Linked DNA regions of Homo sapiens: all the other regions are linked to region 3. Evidence: promoter capture Hi-C in 16 types of primary human blood cells and fetal thymus (Javierre and others, 2016). All regions are on one chromosome and are shown on one strand. The core of a region is centred on a gene start or on the middle of the fragment in contact, and the rest is flanking DNA. Distances in the headings are between cores, read along the strand shown.

The links. The method cuts DNA at HindIII sites, captures the fragments that hold promoters and counts their contacts. A CHiCAGO score of 5 or more calls a contact.
Region 1: a contact is called between a fragment that was not itself captured here and the fragment with the promoter of TLR4 in region 3, in 1 of 17 cell types (endothelial precursors). The highest score is 5.7, in endothelial precursors.
Region 2: a fragment that was not itself captured here is called in contact with the fragment with the promoter of TLR4 in region 3 in 1 of 17 cell types (endothelial precursors); the score reaches 5.3 in endothelial precursors.

What each region holds. Positions count from the first base shown.
Region 1 is chr9:118,605,982-118,609,305 of GRCh38, reverse strand. No RefSeq gene overlaps it. Among named protein-coding and RNA genes, the nearest start is that of LINC02578, 72 kb to the left of the region's middle. The HindIII fragment of the contact is 1,194 bases long and covers 1,139-2,332 here.
Region 2 is chr9:118,535,766-118,539,580 of GRCh38, reverse strand. No RefSeq gene overlaps it. Among named protein-coding and RNA genes, the nearest start is that of LINC02578, 140 kb to the left of the region's middle. The HindIII fragment of the contact is 4,666 bases long and covers 1-3,815 here.
Region 3 is chr9:117,702,440-117,705,855 of GRCh38, reverse strand. TLR4 (toll like receptor 4) reads right to left here and starts at 1,453. Exons shown (of 3, transcript NM_138554.5): 1 at 1,291-1,453. The coding sequence starts at 1,383. RefSeq lists enhancers at 1-767, 883-1,383, 1,354-1,423, 1,434-1,483, 1,384-1,884 and 1 more. The HindIII fragment of the contact is 5,259 bases long and covers 1-2,312 here.

The sequences.
Region 1 (3,324 bases), core at 486-2,985, 900 kb before region 3:
GAAGTGAAACATAATATTCAACTCAGAATTTCCAGTCCAGTTAATCTATCTTTTGGAAGTGAAACATAAACATCTATTTGTGTGAAAAGCTGACCCCCAAGCATATTCATGACTTGATGTCCAGACCTGTGAATAGGTTACCTTACATAATAAAAAGGGCCCTGTATACGTGATTAAATTAAGGATCTTGAGATGGGGAGGTTATCCTAATTTATCTGTGTGCACACAATGGAATCACAAGGGTCTTTAGAAGAGAGCAAAGAGGACCAGAGTTAAAAAATAGGATATGTGATTATGAAAGCAAGAGTTTGCAGTGATGTAAGGAAGGGACTACCAGCTAAGGAATGAGGCAATTTCTAGAAGATGAAAAAGACAAGGGAATAATTTCTCTTCTACAGCTTCCAGAAGGAACTGCCAACCCATTTTAGGACTTCTGATCTCCAGAATTATAAGAGAATAAGTTTTTAAGCCACTAAATTTGTGCTAAATTGTTACAGTGACAATAGAAAACTAATTATCTCTCTCTCTCTAAATATATAGATATATATGTGTGTGTATGTTATATACACAGGAAGTATATGTAATTACATACACACACTCACAGACACACCCACTCATATAAGGACGCTTATTTTAACATTGTTGCAAGTGTCAAAAACTGGAAAAAAGGCAAATTCCATTCAGTATTAGAGGGGATGAACATTGCACTACACTACAGAATATGTCCAAACTGCAGAATTCTTTCAAGCAAGTAAAATATCAGTTATAGCTACAACAATTTACTTGGAGAATATCCCAAATGTATTATTGAAAAACTCAAGATGTTAAAAGTGTATGTAATACAACCCTATTTTTTTAATGAACCAAGATGGTAGTATTCATTTTTAACAAACAGAAACATAGTATTTACATTACTGCTCATCTTTGCATTCTTTCTTTATATACACATACTATATATAAATCATACCTATTCTAACATATATGTATGTACATATATATGTTGAATATGGCAAAAATGCATAAAATTATATCAAGGTGTTGTCATGATTACTTAGTTGTGAGTGGGGTGGGGGGAAAGCCTGGTATCAAATTGGTTGGAGGGAAAATAAGAGAGGAGGAGCACATAGAAAGCCAAGCTTAAAAAGAAAGGCTGTAAAATATAATTCTGATAATATAAATTATATATATGTAATTACATGTGTATTAAAAATTAGTGGGTTACATATTATAACCATGTGCATTTCCCTGTGGGGTTGCATATAGCTTATTTTTAAGTGGAGAAAAAAAATGCAGAGATGTAGTATAATGTAAATAATGTAATTATATATGGTAAAAAATTAACAAACATATGTATTGTATGATTCAATTTATATAATATTCTTAAAATGACAAGATTTTATGTATTTATTTATTTTTGAGACAGAGTCTCACATTGTCTCCCAGGCTGGAGTGTGGTGGCATGATCTTGACTCACTGCAGCCTGTGCCTCCTGGGTTCAAGTGAGTCTCCTGCCTCAGCCTCCCTAGTAGCTGGGATTACAAGCATGCCCCACCATGTCCAGCTAATTTTTGTATTTTTAGTAGAGACAGGGTTTCACCATGTTGACCAGTCTGGTCTTGAGCTCTTAACCTCAAGTGATCCATCCACCTCGACCTCCCAAATTGCTGGGATTACAGGCATGAGCCACCACACCCGGACAAATGACAAGATTTTAGAGATGTGTAACAGATTTATGGTTGGCAGAAATTAAAGAAGGGGAGAAGGAAAGGAGGAGGGGATGGATGTAACTATAAAATGGTAGCATGAGGGAATGTTGTGGTAATGAGACAGATCTATATTTCAATTATTGTTGTAATTACATGAATATGCATGCTATAAAATTACATAGAGCTACCCAAATTTACACACTCACACACATGAGTGCCTGTAAAGCTGGTGAAAACTGAATAAGTTTTCTGGACTGCATGACTGTTTGATATTATACTATAATTATGTAAGATGTTATTGACAGAAACCAGGTGAAGGGTACACTGAGCCCCTCTGTACTATTCTTATGAATAAACTTCTGTGAATCTATAATTATTTCAAAATAAAAGTTTTTTAAATGAACAAACAAAACTCTTAAATATTTGCAAATGCTTGCATAGGTCAGTATAATCAAAGAGAAATATGAGGAAAGATATATAGTACATGGTTATCTTTGGTTACTTTAGTAAGGAAGAATTGGATAGAGAAATGTTAGGTAACTGGTTATACTTTTTTTGCATTTATTACAACAATTTTTGTATCATAAAATAGGGCAAACAAATATGTTTAAAAAATGAATTAAGCTTTTGATTAAAATTTTAAATAATGAAGTAGACATGAAATATTTTCCGGTTTTATTTTCTTTTGTTTTAACTATCAAGTAACTACTATTTTCTTATCAAAAATTGATGACTCATCAGTATATTCTCAGGATCACTATGCATTAATTAATGCAAAATATTTATTAAGAACCTATTATAAACCAACTATAATAACGGGCCATTGTTGTACAGAGAAAATGTGAGGATTTTTTCTTCCTGCATTTGAAGAATTTATAATTCAGTGGGAAGCAAGACTGGAGAGATGGGAAAGCTACTACCAACAGGCTTCCTACCTTACTCCATTATAGTTTAGCTCTAAAGGAGACATCCCTGAGCTAATATTTCAAAATAGCTAGAAGAGAGAATTTGAAATGTTTCCAGCACATGGAAATGATAAATGTTGGAGGTGATGGATATCCTAAATGCTCTGACTTGATCATTATACATTCTATGTATGTAGCAAAATATCACATGTACTCCATATATTTATGTCTAAATATTGTATATTAATTTAAAAAGAGGAACAGAAATAGTTTAAGATAATCTGTATTTTTTGTTCATCATACAACTAATAAGTACTAATTGCTTTTAAGACACTGGAAAGATACAGAAAAAATATGCAGAGACAGTCATAAACATTTTGGATTCTTTCCTTTTGCTCTTACATATAATATAACAGAATTATATTTATATAGTAGACTACAGTGTAGTCTTATAATACATTATACTTTGGAGGGGTTTAACATTTAAATTAAATTAAAACAAATTATCAGTAATTTTCATTTTTTCTAATACTCTTAGAAACATCTTTTATTTCTGTTTTTAATAGCTTTATTGAGGGGCAATTGATACATAAAATACTGCACATGTTTGATATCTACAATTTGACGTGCTTGAACATATATATACACACATGAAACCATCCCCACAATCAAGGTAATAAACATACACACCACCCCCAAAAGTTTCTTTCCAC
Region 2 (3,815 bases), core at 647-3,146, 830 kb before region 3:
TTAGAACTCTTGCTGTTTTAAGAAGGAAATGTAGAGAGGAATAAAGAAAGAAGAGAAAATAAGGCTTTACTTTTTCATCAGTAATCACTCTTTGGCACATATTTTCTTATCTGTGTACCAGACGTATTGCTCAGATTCCTAACTTTGCAGTATTTTCTTTGCTACTTCTTTGTTTTTGAAAGAAATGCTCCAGGGAAATGAGAACAGGGTTTGTGATTTGAACACTATTGTTTTTTCCAGCAAATTCCAATCCCTTCTTGCCTAGACCTCTGTGGATGGAAAATGACTAAAATGATAGTAACTTATCATCTGGTATGGAGTACAAGGGGTGTTAGAAGCCTGTATACTTTTAGCTCTACGATACCAGTAAGCGACTTCCCTCTGTAGGTGGCAGTTTTCTCATCTGTAAGCTGAAGAAGAAAGCTGAGTAATTGTAAGGCAGCTCTGAGGTCATATATAAGAATAATTGAATATTTGAATAATTTGAGCATTATATGGCATGTGGTGAGGCCCTTTGCCAAACAGGAATGAGAACTTTCAAGGCATTGTTTAAACAGGGAGATTTTCCTGTCCAAATACACTGTCTAGAAATTATTGCCCAGTCACTTAGGTTGAAATTATTCTTATCTGCACTTTAGATTAATAAATTCTTGTTCATATATATATATGTGTGTGTGTGTGTGTGTGTGTGTATAGTCTCACTTTAATTATGTTTTCTTATGATCAATGCTGTAAAGTGCAAGGATTCCTGGCTCCATAGCTTTTGCCTCAGTTTCCTCATTTATAAAATAGAGTTAATTATAATAGTTGATGTGAAGATTGAATGGGTTAATTTACTTAAAAATGTCCAAAGCAGTGCCTGTCACATAACTGGCACTACATAATTATTTGCTTTAATAGCTATCATCTGAAAGCATAAAATTCCAACAGAATAAGTGATTTAAAGTGTCCCAGTGCCACATAACCATGTATGACGTGCAGGTGGAGGGTGATGGTCAGTGATGTGCATGAATACTGGGAGATAATATTGTTGGTAGTAAAACTAAGGGCTTAAAGGGCAATTCTTGCAGGTGATGGAAATTTGATAAAATTAATAAAAGAATCTTAAAAGATAAGTGTGATGGTTAATATTGAGTGTGAACTTGATTAAATTGAAGGATGCAAAATATTGTTCCTGGATGTGTCTGTGAGGATGCTGTCAAAGGAGATTAACATTTGAGTCAGTGGACTGGGAAAGGCAGACCCACCCTCAATCTGGGTGGGCACAATCTAATCAGCTGAGCTGCCAGAGTGTCCAGAATAAAAATGAGGCAGAAGAATGTGAAAAGACTAGACTGGCTTAGTCTCCTGGCCTACATCTTTCTCCTGTGCTGGATGCTTTCTGCCCTCAAACATTGTACTCCTAGTTCTTCAGCTTTGAGACTCTTGGACCTTCGACCACAGACTAAAGGCTGCACTATTGGCTTCCCTACTTTTATTGAGACTCGGACTGGCTTCCTGTCTCCTCAGCTTGCAGACGGCCTATTGTGGGACCTCACCTTGTGATAGTATGAGTCAATACTCCTTCATAAACTCCCCGTTATATATGCATCTAACCTATTAGTTCTGTCCCTTTAGAGAACTCTAATACAATGAGGAATATAATAGAATTAAATAAAATCTTAGTTTCAAGTTCAGAAGAACATTGGCCACACCCTGTCTTCCAAAGTATTTCATCACTCCACGCAGCAGTTAACAGTAGAACATGGCCTAAACCTGAAGATCAACAATGGGTGGATAACCTAAGGGTTCTCCAAAGTTTAGATTGAAGAATGTCTTTCTTCTCTAACTTCTCAAACTTCTCTAACACTTTCTCACTTTCCTACTCAGAGTCTATATTTCTTCACAGGTAATTTTATGTTATTCTCCTCTGTTATGCAAAGTTCTGATTACTTCTGCCAGAACAAATCTGTTTTTGCTTTATTTTCTTTCTTTTTTTTTTTTTTGAGACAAAGTCTCACTTTGTCTCCCAGGCTAGATTTCAGTGGGCATGATCTCAGCTCACTGCGATCCCCACCCTCCTGGGTTCAAGCAATTCTCCTGCCTCAGCCTCCCTAGTAGCTAGGTTTACAGGCACCTGCCACCACACTCAGCTAATTTTTGTATTTTTTAGTAGAGATGAGGTTTCACCATGTTGGTCAGGCTCGTCTCAAACTCCTGACCTCAGGTGATCTACCCGCCTCGGCCTCCCAAAGTGCTGGGATTACAGGCGTGAGCCACTGCACCCAGCCTGCTTTAATTTCAAAGCACATCCGGTAGACTAAAATTCAGCACATAATATCATGTATTATCATTGTCTTCCTTGTATAAGTGAAGTAAAGAAAAGTAAAGATATAACCTAAGAACTGGATTTAGGTAGTTATATATTTATCAACTAATATACAGAAATCTTAATGAATTGGCTAATTCTGTGTAACTAGCAAACTCTAGAGCTTTAATTTAGATCCAGATGCATTACACAAAAACCCATCTGCTTTATAGAGTGTGTTAGTAGTGTTTTTTAAAGTTGCTTCATATTATAATAAATCTAACATCATCAGTAGGAAGTATAAATTCTTGATTGGGACCTAGTAATTACCTAGTAATTACCAGGAGAGACCTGGTAATCTCTTCAGTGAACAAGTGCTTTCAGATGATTGTTAAACTGTTAAAGAAGTTTAAAGACACTGGTTGTAGGGATGGAAAAGGAAAGCATGAAAAACATCTATGCATAGAAAGAGAGGTGGACATGTTTGATGGATCTGCATCCATTTCCAATTAAGCAAATTTTAGAAAACAAATATGTTTAAATAATGTTAGAAAATATAGTAAACCATTCCGGGGAGGGAAAAACAAAAAAATAAGTCAAATAGAACTGATGGAGCTCACATATACCAGACAATCTTGGAAGGCTAAATGCCCAGCAGAGATTACAGGATACCCCAGTTTCTGTGATATGATCAGCCATTTCCAAGAGTCACAATTCCTCTCTAGGGAAGGACGAGGCCTTAGGCATAAAGGGTACAACTGAAATAATGCTTTCAGAGAAGAGAATGTAAAAAAATGCGCCCCGAGATAATTTTCCAAGCCGACAATGGGGATTGAAGGGAGGAGAGAAAGTCATTTTCAGGTCAATAATCCCTACTGCACAGCCACTGTGAGCTGTGTGAATCACTGAGCACATTTCAAGGAACGGCTGTCATGTGTCTCTAACTGATTCTCACTGCAGATGGACTCCAGGGTACTTGGGATCTATTTTGAGGAGGCTGCAAGCAGTAGAAGCCTGCTGGTTCCACTGTAAGAAAACCTCAGCCACCCTTGAAAATGTGGGGAAATAAAAACCTTCAGTCCAAGCACATTTCCCCCTTGTTATGATACATATTTCTTATATTTCTTTTCCTCCATTACTGATCTCACCCTCCCTTCTCTGTGCTCCTTCTGTAGGCAACGCTATCATTTTTCTTTCTCCTAAGTCTGTGGGCAAAACATGCAACTTGGAGTTTTCTACATACCCTGAAAGAAGAGAACAAAACAAGAGTTCATGTACATATTATATGTTTTTGTCAGTCCGCAGTCATAAAATCCTCCCAGGGGCAAATATTTCTCTCTTTCTCCATTCCCCAGGTGAATGTTGATACTCAGGGCTACCTTAGAAACCTTCTATGGAAGTTGGAAAATCCTTCTTATCTGTGGTTCTTGTGGTAGGCAGAATAATGGCACTTACTCACTAAAGGTGTCCGTGAACTAATCCCTGGACCTATGAGTACACAACCCTCCATGGCAACGGGATTTTGCAG
Region 3 (3,416 bases), core at 204-2,703:
CCTGTGGTAGAAAGCTGTTCTAATGGCAATGGAGAGTTATTAAAAGTTTTTAAGGAGAGTAATTTGTTAGATTGAAGCCTAAGGAAAAATAATAACAACAAATGCAAGTACATAACAAACAAGAACGTGCAGAATGAATTAAAGGAAGAAGACTGGAATCAGGAAAGCAGTTAGTGTGTAAGAGTCAATGCCAGGGGAAATGAGGGCCTGCCTTACAGTGGAACTAAGGGGATGGGCAGGGATGGACAGGCTTCAGGGACTGACAGGAAAAGGTACATGGGGAAAAGAAGTCAAGTTTGGCTGTGGTTTTATCTCGCAGTGAGCCTAATTAGAAAATCTATCTCCATTAACCTAACAGCAGAGGGATACAGAGAAGAGGACAAGGAGGAGGACTATGGGCAGGGAATTGAGGGAAGGGATGGCTTCAAGATAATGAATTAGTCTTTGCTAAATATTACTTGATTTTCTCCTATATCCTCAACTTCAGGACTGCAGCTGGCTTTTTCTCTCTTGAGTTTCTGACCCTGCCTCACTGTAAATCATTTTCTTAGCTGTTCGGCTCTACTATGGGTTTCTAAAGCAACTGTGAAGTCTGCGCAGGGGAAAAACAAAAGAGATCCATCATGAATAAGATTACCAACCAGCTGATTGGTATTTCACTAAGAAAGAAACTGTTGCATTAGCTGACATTATACATATTTCCCTCTTGCTTTTTTCTTCTCTCTCTCTCTCTTTTCCTTTTTCATTCTCTTATTTTTTTCATCCTCTGGACTAAACTATATTACTGCATACAGAAGTCTGACACCCACTTAGAAAGTTCTTTCTCTAGAGACACACACACAAAAGCCATCTTTTTCCTGAGATTGAAAGGAGCAGGGTGACTGCTTGAAGCTGAGTGTAAAGACCACCAGTGGGAAGAAATGACACTGAAGCAGTCTGCTTACTCTCTAGTGAAGAAGGTATTATAATTCTCTTACAGATGCGAAAACTAGTCTCAGACAGGTTTGATAATTTCTTCACAGAGCCACAAGGTAGCAGAGCAGGGACCTTAAGCAGATCTATGTTATCTCATGCCCCTGTTAGCACTCAAAATTTCCAAATGGAACAAACCCCCAATGGCTGCCTCTAGTGCCCTGTAACAATGAATTATTTGATCTCTGTGGCTTCTTGAGTCTTTAAGGTAATTTAACTCTTTTTTTTTTTTGCAAAAATAAACAAACCAGGGCACACAGTGAGAAGTTCTGGGCAGAAGTGAGGGAAAGTTCAGAGGAGCTGACTCCAGCCACATACCTCCACGCAGGGCTCCCAGCTTTCTGGTCTCACGCAGGAGAGGAAGGCCATGGCTGGGATCAGAGTCCCAGCCAGGCGCGAGGCAGACATCATCCTGGCATCATCCTCACTGCTTCTGTGAGCAGCAGTGGCCCTGTGAATGCGTGGCTCGCTATCACCGTCTGACCGAGCAGTTTCTGAGGCACTGGTGTCTTCTCTTCCTCGAGCCGCCCCACAGCAATTGGTGTATTCAAAGCAGTTCTGGGCTAAAGGGTGAGAGGAAGTGAAAGCGGCAACCTTAGCATTCTGGACTTTTGTTTCTCTAATAGTTATCTCTTTTGTCACAGGAGAGGAAGTTAGAAGAAGAAAACGCCTGCAGACCAGTGGCTAAAGAAACAGCAAGAGGAAGCTAGTTGGCTTTTATCCCAATTAGTCATCTGACCTCTGCCTGGGCTTGGTGAATTTAGGAAAACAATCAGGTTCTATTAAAATAGCCCTTGTAACTCTCTAGGATGACGGTGATTTTCCAATTTTGTTTCAGCTGTGGAAACACTATTTGTATTAGTTTGCTGGGGCTGCCATAAGGAAATACCACAGACTGGGTGGCTTAAACAACAGACATTCATTTTCTCACAATTCTAGAGGCTTCCAGTCTGAACTCAAGGTGTCAGCAAGTGTGTCTGAATTCTAATCTCCCCTTCTTATAAGGACACCAGTTATGTTGGATTAGGGCCCACCATAATGACCTCATTCTACCTTACATACCTCTTTCAAGGCTCTCTCTCCATATACAGTCATAGTCTGAGGTAGAGGGGTTAGGACTTCGATATGTAGGTTTTTGCAGGACACAATTTGGCCCGCCCCTTCTTGTGAAGAAACTCACATACAAAACTGAAAATAAACCTCAACTGAAACACAGTTTGAAAAGTACAAGAAGATTGGGAAAAGTCTGGGATTTCAGAATGGAATATACTGAAGTTCAGATCTCAGCTGGGTGACTCATGGCTTTGAGGCATTGGTCAAGTCATGTAAACCGCTAAGCTTTACTTTCTTTCTTTTCTTTTTTCATTTTCTGTATTATGGTAAAATCACATAACATAACATGACATAACATAAAATTTATTATCTTGACCATTTGTATGTGTACAATTTAGTGGCATTAATTATGTTCATATTTTTGTACAATCATCACCACTATTCATTAATAAATAACTCCCCATTTCCCCTTTCCCTAGGCCCTTGAATCTATGCACTACTTTTGTCTCTATAATCTTGACTACTCTAGGCAGCTCTTAGAAGTGGAATCATACAGTATGTATCTTTTTGTCACTGGCTTATTTCACTTTGCATAATGTCCTCAAGGTTCTTTTCTGTGTAGTATAGATCAAAGCCTCCTTCCTTTTTAAAGCTGAACAATATTCCATTGTATGTATAGACCACATTTTGCTTATCCATTTGTCTGTTCATGGACACTTGCATTGTTGCCACACGTTAGCTATTGTGAATAATGCTGCCATAAACATGGTTGTACAAATATCTCTTAAAGTCTCTGTTTTCAATTCTTTTGGATACGTACTCAGAAGTGAGATTGCTGGATCATGTGGTAAATCTATTTTTAATTTTTTGAGCACCCACCATATGATTCTCCACAGCATCTGTACCATTTTACATTCCCACAAATGGTGTACAGGAGTTCTCATTTTTTCACATCTTCACCAACACTTATTATTACTTTCTGGTCTGTAAAATGTGGTAATCACTTTTAATCATAGCAGAAGCTTGCATTTATAAAATGTATTAAAATAAAGATACGCAATGGTAGTCAAATTATACAAACCTACCAACCTTTAGTTTTCTGGTCTTTAAAACGAAGATAATCGCATGTGTTTTGAATTACTGAATTAAGCTAACTTACGTAAAACGTCTAGTCTAGAGCATCATCATTACATTCCATAAATGAGAGCTATGATGAGGATTGAAAATGTGGATAGAATGAAGATGATAATATGTATCTCAAAGTATTGTATTGGGATTAAATGAACTGGCATTTGTAAAGCTTTTAGGACAGTGTCTGGAAAGTAGCAAGTGCAATGTAAGTTTCTGTTAAATAAGAACCTGATTTAAAACAGGAATATTATGCATGCTAA